Regions from separate parts of the Homo sapiens genome. Here all the other regions are linked to region 3. The links are contacts of gene promoters, found by promoter capture Hi-C in human tissues and cell types (Jung and others, 2019). All regions are on one chromosome and are shown on one strand. Each heading gives the region's core, a stretch centred on a gene start or on the middle of the fragment in contact. The rest is flanking DNA. Distances are from core to core; before and after follow the strand shown.

The links. Contacts are between HindIII fragments. The study calls those that stand out against the background at their distance.
Region 1: a contact is called between a fragment that was not itself captured here and the fragment with the promoter of SREBF2 in region 3, in 1 of the 25 tissues and cell types used here (mesenchymal stem cells).
Region 2: a fragment that was not itself captured here is called in contact with the fragment with the promoter of SREBF2 in region 3 in 2 of the 25 tissues and cell types used here (hippocampus and lymphoblastoid cells).
Region 4: a fragment that was not itself captured here is called in contact with the fragment with the promoter of SREBF2 in region 3 in 1 of the 25 tissues and cell types used here (dorsolateral prefrontal cortex).

Annotation. Positions count from the first base shown.
Region 1 is chr22:41,606,622-41,609,641 of GRCh38, forward strand. It overlaps DESI1 (desumoylating isopeptidase 1), which reads right to left. Exons shown (of 6, transcript NM_015704.3): 2 at 1,219-1,240; 3 at 641-710. Among named protein-coding and RNA genes, the nearest start is that of DESI1, 13 kb to the right of the region's middle. The HindIII fragment of the contact is 5,368 bases long and covers 1-3,020 here.
Region 2 is chr22:41,658,792-41,661,997 of GRCh38, forward strand. It overlaps XRCC6 (X-ray repair cross complementing 6), which reads left to right. Exons shown (of 13, transcript NM_001469.5): 12 at 2,540-2,653. Among named protein-coding and RNA genes, the nearest start is that of SNU13, 28 kb to the right of the region's middle. The HindIII fragment of the contact is 4,770 bases long and covers 1-3,206 here.
Region 3 is chr22:41,831,682-41,834,715 of GRCh38, forward strand. It overlaps SREBF2 (sterol regulatory element binding transcription factor 2), which reads left to right and starts at 1,424. Exons shown (of 19, transcript NM_004599.4): 1 at 1,424-1,677. The coding sequence starts at 1,590. CCDC134 (coiled-coil domain containing 134) reads left to right here. Exons shown (of 7, transcript NM_024821.5): 7 at 1-483. SREBF2-AS1 (SREBF2 antisense RNA 1) reads right to left here and starts at 2,984. Exons shown (of 2, transcript NR_157279.2): 1 at 2,762-2,984; 2 at 1-2,299. RefSeq lists enhancers at 778-1,287, 893-1,549 and silencers at 1,328-1,667, 1,728-2,117. The HindIII fragment of the contact is 7,421 bases long and covers 1-2,620 here.
Region 4 is chr22:42,038,348-42,041,342 of GRCh38, forward strand. It overlaps a transcript of WBP2NL not described here. Among named protein-coding and RNA genes, the nearest start is that of NAGA, 31 kb to the right of the region's middle. The HindIII fragment of the contact is 5,011 bases long and covers 1-2,995 here.

The DNA of each region.
Region 1 (3,020 bases), core at 99-2,598, 230 kb before region 3:
AAATTAGCTGGGTGTAGTGGCAGGCACCTGTAATCCCAGCTACTCGGGAGGCTGAGGCAGGAGAATGGCGCGAACCCGGGAGGCGGAGCTTGCAGTGAGCCGAGATCGCACCACTGCACTTCAGTCTGGGCGACGGAGCGAGACTCCATCTCAAAAAAAAAAAAAAAAAAAAAAAAAAAAGAAATTTTCGGAAAAGGGTGTGGGCTTTAGTGTGATAATCCTGGGTTCTAGGACTGGTGTCCCTTATTGGCTGTTTAAGTTTGGGCAAGTCTTGATGCTTCTCAGAGCCCTCATCATTCAGCTTAACATCAGTTGCGTTCCTAGGATGAGCCGGACACTGTGCAGGGGATGGAGATGGAAGGTCTCAGCTCGCAAGGAGCTTACACAGTTCCCTGTGGAGAACCAGAAACAGCTCATTTCACCATAACATGCTCTCTGTGAGACAGAAGGACCCACACGTGCCATGGGAACAGAGAGGAGAGGAACTGGCTGGGGTGTCTGGGAAAGGTTTTATTGAGCCAAGTCTTCAGGTGGCTTTGAGGAACAATGCCAGAAGTCCATAGTAGAAGCAAAGCTCCTGGTCTACAGGAGCCCCCAGGAACCTGAGACTGCAGGACAGAGTGTAGGGGAAGACACTCACCGGGGGGCAGCTGGAGATACCACCACTGCCGAAGAAGAACTCATCCTTGTGCACAACTATGGATGTGTGCCTGTCACACAGAGAGAGACACAGTAAGCCAGAAAACTTAAACTTTTGAGAAAAAGCAAACACCATAATGCAATGAGAGTAATTTCTGCCCAAGGATAGGACTGTGGGGACCAGTCTTATAAAACCAACAAACCAAAGGTATGAATATGATAAATACCACAGATCAGGGCTTCTCAATCTTGGCACTATTGACATTTGAGGCTGGATACTTCTTTGTTGTGTGGGGCTGTCCTGTGCATTCTAGTCTGTTGAGCAGCGTCCCTGCCTCTATCCACAAGATGCCAGTAGCATCCTCCTCCCTGTATGACAACCAAAAATATCTCTGGACATGGCCAAATGTCCCAGGGTGAGAGAGCAAAAGAACTGATGAGAAGCACTGCTTTAGGGCTTGAAGATTTATAGCATGGAGAGCTAGGTTTCATGCTGGAAGCCACAGACTAGAACCTGAAATGCATAGAGTGCTGCCTTGTTTCAAAACTAGTCAAAGTAAGGAGACCCACCCAACTTACCAGATGCCTTCCAGTTGTTTCCCTGTGGAGAGAAGAAGAGATTTAGCCACTTGGGACTAGAATAAGTGGCCCCTCAGCCTTGGTAAATTCATGACATCACTCAAACCCAGGGTAACCTGTCATAAACCTCTTGAGGGACTTTCTAGGAATGCAAGTCCCCTCCAGTAAGGTCTTTAGGTTGTGACAGAGTGTAAGTAAGTTGAAAAGTAATGAGAGTCTTTTATCAGAATGCAAGATTAAAAACACTAGTATAAAGGTACCCCAGTTTTATGTCTGCTATTCTTTCCTCTTTGGGGTCAATTCAGCTATGCCTTTTTAACTTCTCTGTCTCACGTACAGTAAGACTATAGTAATACAATGAATGTTATTACTCATTTCTTCATTGAGGTGAAATCCTTCAGAAACTGATAGGATAAAACTTTGCAAATGCTATCCATTTAAATAGTTAAAGCACGTTATTCTACCTCTATGTGCCAGAAACAATGTTAGGTGTGGAAATGCAAACAGGAACGTATCACTTTCCTGCCCTTGAGAAGCTCAAAGTCAAATGGACTGAGACACACAAATAATTAACTAAAACACAATGTTAATATGCTGTATCATAGTGGTAAAAATAAGGTACTAAATATAATAAACTACTTTTGTGAGCTTCCATTACCAATGACAAGTAAGGGCAGGGATGGACATTTCTGTGGGAGAGAACAAGATGTGCACATGCATGGCTGTGAAGTCTAAAGCCTGCAGGGCAGAGTGAAGGGGGCAGTGATGGTGCCAAGGGGAGGAGCGGCCAACAGGATGGCCAGCAAAGCGGGCAGGCCTGGACTCAAAGAGGCTGTGAGGCTGGAGAGTGCCTTGATCAGATCCATGTTCGGAAAAGATAACTGTAGTTGTGGGATAGCAGATGAATTGGAGGGAAGAGAGCAGACCAAGCAGACCATCACAAGAGTCCATGAGAGATACTCTACAGCAGTGCTCAGGAGGCAGAGGAAGGGCATTGAAAGACGTGGAGTGTCAGCAAACATCACCCACTCACTCCTGCTTATCACTTCACACGGCGACATGGCAGATTACTGATTGCTAACTGCTACCTTCGCTGTTTGCCCTGTGCCTTTCTTTTTTTTAGAGGCAGAGTCTCTCTGTTGCCCAGGCTGGAGTGAAGTGACGTGATCTCGGCTCATTGCAACCTCTGCCCCCCGGGTTCAAGTGATTCTCATGCCTCAGCCTCCCAAGTAGCTGGGATTACAGGCATGCACCACCAAGCCCGGCTGATTTTTGTATTTTTAGTAGAGACAGGATTTTGCCATGTCGGCCAGGCTGGTCTCGAACTCCTCGCCTCAAGTGATCCACCTGCCTCAGCCTCCCAAAGTGCTAGGATTACAGGCATGAGCCACCACACACTTGGCATAGCATCCTCAGAGATAGTTAAGGGGACCATATGGGTTCAGATCCTGGATTTTCCACTTCCTAGTGGTGGATCTTGGGCAAGTTTACCCAGCCTGTTTAAGTCTGTTTCTCCAGTTCAGAGTTGCTGTGACTGGTAATGTTAATGTATAGAAAGCTTCACAGTATGTGATATACAGATGTCTGATAAATGGAGGCTCTTATTAGGTACAATGACCTCCTTGGGGAAAAGGGTAAAGACTTCCAGAAGATAAAAATAAATTCTACTTCAGACATGTCACAGTGGCCCACCCCTGTAATCCCAGCACTTTGGGAGGCCGAGGCAGGCAGATTACTTGAAGCCAGGAGTTCAAGACCAGCCTGGCCAACAGAGAAACCCAGTCTTTACTAAAAATAAAAAT
Region 2 (3,206 bases), core at 96-2,595, 170 kb before region 3:
GTGGTGGCGTGTGCCTGTAGTCCCAGCTACTCGGGAGGCTGAGGCAGGAAGATCGGTTGAACTCAGGAGGCAGAGGCTGCAATGAGCCGAGATTGCACCACTGCACTCCAGCCTGGTGACAGAGCGAGACGCTGTCTCAAAAAACAAAACAAAAACAAAAAATCAATAAATAATTTAAGAGGAAATAAGTGGTGGATTTGGGTTTAGAATCCAGCGACTCGCAGCCGGGCGTAGTGGCTTACGTCTGCCTCCTAGGTTCAAGCTATTCTCGTGTCTCAGACTCCCGAGCAGTTGGTCCCCGCCCGGCTAATTTTTGTATTTTTAGTAGAGACGGGATTTCGCCATGATGGCCCGGCTGGTCTCAGAATGATCTATTTTAGACAAAATAGCCCCAGTGTTAAAAGCAGAAGAGTTATTGGACCATTGTTACTGTGGTGCCTGCTTAGCTGTGTCTGGCGAAAGAGAAACGTTTTGAGCTAAACAGCCCATCTCCTCCTTTCAGGCCTTAGGCAAATTCAGAAGTCGGTGGCCTAGTGCCTAGCAAGGTAGTTTAGGACACAGGTGCCTGCCACCAAGCCCGGTTAATTTTTTTGTATTTTTAGTAGAGACGGGGTTTCACTGGGTTAGGATGGTCTCGATCTCCTGACCTTGTGATCCGCCCGCCTTGGCCTCCCAAAGTGCTGGGATTACAAGCAGGAGGCGCTGCGCACGGCCTATTTTGTGTTTTTATTAGTGATTGGGTTTCACCATGTTGGCCAGGCTGGTGTCAAATTCCTGACCTCAAGTGATCCACCTGTCTCGGCCTCCCAAAGTTCTGGGATTATAGGCATAAGCCACCATGCTCACTACTTTTATTTTTATTTTTAGTACTGAGCATAGGCTGGACCTCAGTACATTCATTCATTCATTTGAGACAGGTTCTCACTCTTGTCACCCAGACTGAAGTGCAGTGGTGGGATCTCGGCTCACTGAAACCTTTGGCTCCCAGGCTCAAGCAGTTCTCCTGCCTCAGCCTTCCGAGTAGCTGGGATTACAGGCACCCGCCACCATGCCTGGCTGATTTTTGTATTTTTTGGTAGAGATGGGGGTTCACCATATTGGCCAGGCTCATCTTGAACTCCTGACCTTAGGTGATCCACCCGCCTCGGCCTCCCAAAGTGCTGGGATTACAGGCAAGAGCCACTGCACCCAGCTTCTCTGTACTTTTAAAACTCTACAGATGATTCCCAGATTGGGAGCCAGTGCTCTTGCAGAGGTTCCCATGATGTGGACCAGGGGACTTCTGATGCAGCAGGAGCACAGTTTGGCTCCAGCATTGTGCCATCTAGGTACACCAGCAAGAGCTCCCCTCCATGCTTGGCAAATACGGGCATGTGAGCTGCCCATCTCATCACCCTTGCCCTTGATGTGACACAGCTCATGTCAGAAGCTTGATTTAACAATATAGTTGTAAGCTAACAAAAAAGGAAACAAAAGTATGATCTTTCCTCCAAAGTTGCCTTTTCCTGTCATACTTGCTCCCCCTGTTTCAGCCAGTCATCTCCCCATCCCACTCCTATTCTTCTTACATTCTGGTTTCCAGCTCTGTGATTTCAGTTAAATAATAAATCCTATTCTATCAGTAAGTCCTGCCAGTTCTGTCACTTCTCATGTTTATGGGTCCTCCCACCCACACCCCACTTCACCTGTCTTATCTTACCCTCTTTCAGTTCACCCTCCATGCAGCTATCAGGGGATTCTTTGGATAAGGCCTAATTCCTTGGCAGGCATCCCAGCTTCCATGACCTCATCATACCCATCTTTCTCACCTCTCTGCTGGCCCTGTCCTCCTTAACACCCTACCTTCCAGCTATATGTCACCTGCTATTTCTCTCCCAGTGCCTTCTGCTTCTTATCTTTCACCACCCCTCCTGTGTTCCAGTGTGCCTGTACAGTCGCTTCTTGCATGGTGTTGCCCAACTCCACTGCATCGTTTTTATCCACCTCCTCTCTCTCACTGGGCTGTAAGCTCACCGCAGGCATGAGCACTTGTTTGAATTCCCAGAATCTAGCTTAGTATCTCCACTGTACCACTGCCCTTTGGGAAAGTCATGTAATCTCTCTCCTTTTCTCCTCTGTAAAACTGGGGACAAATCAAGAGGCTGAGGCAGGAGAATCGCTTGAACCAGGGAGTCGGAGGTTGCAGTGAGCCAAGATCGCGCCACTGCACTCCAGCCTGGCAACAGAGCAAGACTCCATCTCAAAAAAAAATCTAAAAAAAAAAAAACTGGGGACAAATTTACCTATCCTATAGGTTGTTAGAAGGAGTAAATAGAGTAAGTTTAAAGCATTTACAACAGTGCCTGGCGGTAGTATGTGTAATTACAGTAAATGCAGGTGTTGGAAGGTACTTGGTAAATGCTGGAAAGACATTTCCCTAGACCCCTCCCACCTTAGCAGTTAGGTGCTCTCTCTTCTGGTTCTCAGAGAGTTCTGGAAGTGGACAGCAAGCTGGGGCTCGTGACTCACCAGGCCACTCTTCTGTGTTTTGATTTTCTAGTGCCCAAGGTTGAAGCAATGAATAAAAGACTGGGCTCCTTGGTGGATGAGTTTAAGGAGCTTGTTTACCCACCAGATTACAATCCTGAAGGGAAAGTTACCAAGAGAAAACACGGTGAGAAGCTGAATGTGGACATGTGGGCTATTTTTAAAAATTGCTTTTATGATAGTCTTATCACAGTGGGCAATATCCTTTCAGAAATATCTATTCACAGTCTAGTTAAAATGGCTTTTATCCAAAAAACAGACAATAACAAATGCTGGCAAAGATGTGGAGAAAAGGGAACCCTCATACACTGTTGGTGGGAATGTAAATTAGTACAGCCACTATTATGGAGAATAGTTGGGAGTTTCCTCAAAAAGTGAAAACTAGAGCTACCATATGATCCAGCATACCATATGATCCAGTCAGTATATACCCAAAAGAAAGGAGATCAATATATCAAAGAGATATGTGCACTCCCATGTTTATTGCAGCACCATTCACAATAGCCAAGATCTGGAAGCAACTTGTGTCCATCAACAGATGCCTGGTAAAGAAAATGTGGTACACGTACACAATGGAGTACTATTCGGCCATAAAAAAGAATGAGATCCTGTCATTTGCAATAATATGTTAAGTGAAGTAAGCCAGGCTCAGAAAGACAGACATTTACATGTTCTCACTT
Region 3 (3,034 bases), core at 174-2,673:
GCTTCTTGACAGCACAAGTCAGGGCCCTTGTTAGTTTCATCACATCCATTACCTTTCCTTGATCACTTGTACCATCATCTGTAATTTATTTTTATGTTTAATACGGGTGTGGGATTTCTGATTTTTTTTTTTGCTAGACTGGAAGCTCTCAGAGGGCAGGAACCATTTGTTTCCCTGCCACAGAGATGTTCAATAAATATTGTCAATTGAATGTGCAAATAATCTCACTTAACCACAGCTATGAGGGATGCTATTTTATCCCCATTTTAGAGATGACTAAACTGAGGCTTAGAACAATTAACCCAAGGTCACAGTGAATTAGTGGATCCATGTGTCTGCCTCCACACAGCCTGTGTGTTCTTAATTATTGATCACTAAGCAACAGCTGCCTCTCACAAACTGGCAGGAAACTTCAACTTTTCCCTTTTATCAATATATTGTGAACGCCTTTTCTTGCTAATAAATATACATTTGTGTGCGTAATTTTTAATGATCCCATGGTATTCCATCGTGTGGATGTAATTTACATATTCATTTCCTTATTCTCACTTCTTCCTAGTTACAGCACTTCTTTAAGCACTTGTAATTTTTATTCCTTTGGATAAATTCCTAGAAGTTTACAACACGACCAGCTGCAAGATGGGGCAGTGAGGTGCTTGAAGGAGTGGGTGGGCTGCACTTCAGAATCCCGGTGGAACTTTTTCAAAAAACTCGTGCCCGGGGCCCCCCTCTCAGGAGGCCGTCGGTGGGCCTGGGCACTGGCGTGGTTTTCAGGTCCTCAGTGGTTCCGAGGTGCCAGAGATTGAGGACCACTGGAGTAAGCGCGAGGTCACGGCGGGTGCAAAGCAGAAGACGTAAAATCCTGACCGCCCTGGGACAATCTGCAACCTTGTCAAGCCTCCGTGCCCGCCTTTGTAAGGAGGCTGGGAGAAGCGGGACTTGGATGACCCGGACTCCCGTCCCGAGCGCTGGGGTCCAGGTTTGACTCCGCTGGCTTTCTCAGGCGGGCAGGGCGGGGGTAGGCAGCTGGGAAGATGACGTAATGTGCTCCCAGCCAGGCCTGGAGGCGGCCAGCGGTCGCAGGTGGAGGGTGGCCTGTTAACCCTTCACTCCCAGGCCAGTGGACGGACTTGCGTGTGGCGCAGATCCAACGGAGAAGGCAGCGGCTCCTTTAAACAAGGCGGAGAAGGTTAAGATGATGACCGGACGGCTACTCCAGGCATTCGCTCCGAGGCCGCGGGGGGAGGGACCTCACTATGCAAATCTGAGCTGCTGATCGATGACGCGCCATCACCCCACGCACCGCTTCGCTCGCCCATTGGCTGAGATGAGCCTGGTCCCATTGACAACAAACAGGGGGGCGCGCGGCCTGGAGGCGGGGCCGCAGGGGGCGCGGGCTGGGGCGGGGGAATCCCGCCCCGCCCTTTCTGTGCGGCGCCCGGGCGCAACGCAAACATGGCGGCGGGTGGCACCCGTCGGTGAGGCGGTGCCGGGCGGGGGTTGTCGGGTGTCATGGGCGGTGGCGACGGCACCGCCCCCGCGTCTCCCTGAGCGGGACGGCAGGGGGGGCTTCTGCGCTGAGCCGGGCGATGGACGACAGCGGCGAGCTGGGTGGTCTGGAGACCATGGAGACCCTCACGGAGCTGGGCGACGAGCTGACCCTGGGAGACATCGACGGTGAGTGGTGGGTGGGTGGGAGTGCGGGGGCCGCGCGGGGAGGAAGGGGTTACGGCGGCGCGCCCGGGTGCGCGTGCGCCCACCCCCCGACAGCCCCGGTTCGCGCGGGAAGAACCCCGTGCGCACGGTGCCCCCGGCGGTCCTCAACCCTTCCGGCGCTGCGAGCGTGAGCCCGACCCAGCTGCGCCGCTCCGGGAGGCCGTGGGATCTGGGGCGCCGCGGGGCCGAAAGCGGCGCGAGGGTCGCGGGTTCCAGAGCGCGGGGCTAGGGACGTCGCGGGGGCGTCTCAGGGAGCGGCCTAAGGAGAGCGCGTGGCCGCCGCCTCCCTCGCGCGCCCACACGCGGTTTCCGTGGTCCGCTCTCCCGCCGCCCGCGACCGCGCGTCGCACCTGTCACTCCCTTCCTGGCCGCGGGGACGTCTTTGGGATTCCCGGGGCCCAGCCCCCAGTCTCCGCGCCCCGAATCCCTGGGCTTCTCAGGATTGACCGACGGCCAGGTCGCCGGGTGCTCCGCGAAACTTTGGGCAGCGACTGCAGAAGCAAGTTGCTGATGAAGAGAGCAGTGGCGGCGGAGTGTGGACACATCTCTCCGGGATGGAGACCCGGGCGCTCCTGCTGTCACGCTGCAAGGGGAATTGAGCAGAAGAAATTTTGAGTTGTGGCCCCTCGGGTACGGGCTGGGGAGCGGGTGGCCTTTGTTCCAGCGCCTTAACAGCGGAGTGGAAGAGCTGGTAGGAGCCCAGGGATCCACTCTTAAAATACTAATTTTGCGACCACGGGAACAACGATTTGGAGAGGGTCAGCGGCTTGCTCAAGGTCACCCAGCTGGTTAGAGCCTAGTTCTTGCAGTTCCTTGGCCAGTATTGGTTTTTTTATACCCCTCCTTTCAAGAAAGAGTCCAGTTGACTAGGCTAGTAATCTTATTAACTGGATAGTTGCACTCTTATGTTTAGGCCCCAAAATGCTTTGTATTATTTCACTTCTTCCTCACAACAATCCTGTGAGATACTCTTATTACCTCTATTTTAATACGGTAATTAAAGAAGCCGAGGCCAGGAGATGTTGACTTATCTAAGGCCACTCACCTTAGAGAGCTTAGGCAGAAACACAGGTGCATTGTACTTTTCAGTTTTCAGAATGCTTTCATGTCCAGGATCTCACTACAGCCTTGCAGGCATGTATGATGGCTACATCCCCGTTGTGCAGATGAAGAAGCAGAAGCAGCAGAAGATTCTCTTTTGGGGGAAGAGATAAATGCAGCAGCTAATTGAAAAGGATCTGTTTGCCATTTTCCCATTTTGCTTTTGTAATATTTCTCCCCTTGGTTTGTCCTTGATTTCCATTTTGGTCATGTGGGC
Region 4 (2,995 bases), core at 405-2,904, 210 kb after region 3:
ATTTTAATGTGCTGTTGAATTTGGTTTGCTAGTGTTTTATTAACGATTTTTGCATTTATGTTCATCAGGGATATTGCCTGGTAATTTTCTTATGTTATCTTTAGCTTTGGAATCAGGGTGATGCTGACTTTATAAAATGAGTTTGGGAGTGCATTCTCTTTTTTAATTTTTGGAAGAGTTTAAGAAGGCCTAGTGTTCTTTGAATATTTGGTAGAATTAGCATATGAAACCATCCGGTCTTGGGCATTTCTTTGTTGGATTTTTTTTTTGTTTGAGACCAAGTCTCGCTCTGTTGCCCAGATTGGAGTGCAGTGGTGTGATCTTGGCTCACTGCAAGCTCCGTCTCCCGGGTTCACGCCATTCTCCTGCCTCAGCCTCCCGAGTAGCTGGGACTACAGGCACCTGCCATCACGCCCAGCTAATTTTTTGTACTTTTAGTAGAGACGGGGTTTCACCGTGTTAGCCAGGATGGTCTCGATCTCCTGACCTCAGGTGATACACCCACCTCGGCCTCCCAAAGTGCTGGGATTACAGGCGTGAGCCACTGCGTCCAGCTGGATTTTTTTTTTCTTTTTCGAGATAGGGTCTTACTCTGTTGCCTAGGCTGCAGTGCAGTGGTATGATCATTGCTCACTGCAGCCTCAATCTCCTGGGCTCAGGTGATCCTCCTGCCTCAGCCTCTCTTACGTAGCTGGGACTACAGGTGCACACCACCATTCCTGGCTAATTTTTTTTTTTTTTTGAGACAGAGTCTCACCCCGTTGCCCAGGGTGGAGTGCAGTGGCACTGTGTCGGCTCACTGCAATTTCCGTCTCCTGGGTTCAAGCAATTCTCTTGCCTCCATCTCCCAAGTAGCTGGGATTACAGGCGCCCACCACCATGCCTGGCTAATTCTTGTATTTTTTTTTAGTAGAGACAGGGTTTCACCATGTTGGACAGGCTGGTGTCGAACTCCTGACCTCAGGTGATCCACTCGCCTTGGCCTCCCAAAGTGCTGGGATTACAGGCTTTTTTTTTTTTTTTCCAGTATCAGTGAGGTCTTCCTGTGTTGCCTAGGCTGGTCTCAAACTCTAGAGCCCAAGCAATCCTCCTGGCTCAGCGTTCCAAAGTACTGTGATCATAGGTGTGAGCCACTACGCTCAGCCTGGAATGTTTTTGATTACTGATTCAACTCCTTGTTTGTTATTGGTCTGCTCAGACTTTCTGTTTCTTCTTGATTCGGTCTTGGTAGTGTGTGTGTTACTAAGGATTTATCCATTTCTTCTAGGTTATTCCATTTATTGGCATATAGGTTGTCATAATAGTCCCTTATGATCCTTTTTATTTCTGTGTCATCCATTGTAATGTCTCCTCTCTTATTTATGATTTTATTTATTTGAATCTTCTTTTTTAATCTAGCTAAAGGCTTGATGATTTTGTTGATCTTTTTAAAAAGCCAACTTAGTTTTTTCTATTCTCTATTTTGTTTATTTCTGCTCTAATTTTTCTTATTTCTGTCCTTCTGCTAACTTTGGGTCGAGTTTGTTCCTCTTTTTCTAGTTTCTTGATTTGTACAGTTAGGTTTTTTTTTTTTTTTTCCTCGAGATGAAGTCTTGTTTTGTTACCCAGAGCTGGAGTGCAGTGGCTCAACCTCAGCTCACTGCAACCTCCGCCTCCTGGGTTCAAGCGATTCTCCTGCCTCAGCCTCCAGAGTAGCTGGGACTACAGGCAGGCACCACCATACCCGGCTAATTTTTTGTATTTTTAGTAGACATGGGGTTTCACTATGTTGGACAGGCTGGTTTCGAACTCTTGACTTCAAGTGATCCACCCGCCTTGGCCTCCCACCATGCCTTGGCCAATGTTAGGTTCTTTAATTGAGATCTATCTTCTCTCTCTCTCTTTTTTTTTTTTTAGACAGAGTCTTGCTCTGTTGCCTAGGCTGGAGTGCAATGGTGCGATCTCAGCTCACTGCAACCTCCGCCTCCTGGGTTCAAGTAATTCTCCTGCCTCAGCCTCCTGAGTAGCTGGGATTATAGTTGCCTGCCACCACGCCTGGCTAATTTTTTGTATTTTAGTAGAGACGAGGTTTCACCATGTTCGCCAGGCTAGTCTTGAACTCCTGACCTCAAGTGATCTGCCTGCCTCGGCCTCCCAAAGTGCTGGGATAACAGGTGTGTGAGCCACCTCGCCTGACCGAGATCTTTCTTCTTTTTAAACATAGGTGTTTAATGCTATACATTTCCCTTATGGAACTGCTTTTGCTGATTCCTGTAAATTTTAGAAAGTTAGAATTTTATTTTTGTCTCAAGATATTTTAAAATTCTCTCTGGATTTCCTCTTTTATCCAGTTGTTCAAGAGTGTATTGTTTTTATGAATTTGTGAATTTTTCTATTTTCTTTATGTTACCGATTTCTAGTTCTTTCCACTGTGGCCTAAGAAGATACCAGGTATTATTTCAATCTTCTTAAATTTGTTAAAACTTGTTTTGTGACTTAAGATGTGACCTATCCTGGAATATGTTCCATGTATACTTGAGATGAAATTGTATTCTGCTGCTGTTGGCTAAAACGTTCTGTATGTTAGGTCCATTTGGTGTATAGTGTTATTCAAATCAGTTGTTTTTTTATTGGTTGTCTGCCTGAATGTGCTATCCATTATTAAAAGTGGAATATTGAATTCTCCTACTATTAAATTGTTTTTAACCTCTTTCTTCATATCTGTCCATATTTGATTTATATATTTAAGTGCTCTGATGTTCAGTACATACATGTTTATAATTGTTATAGCTTCCTGTTGAATTGAAACTTTTATCATTATATGACTTTCTTTGTCCCTAGTAACAGTTTTGGACTTAAAAGTCTGTTTTGGCTGGGCACAGTGGCACACGCCTGTAATCCCAGCACTTTGGGAGGGGAGGCTGAGACAGGCAGATCACGAGGTCAAGAGAGCGAGACCATCCTGGCCAACATGGTGAAACCCCATCTCTACTAAAAATATATAAATTAGCTGGGC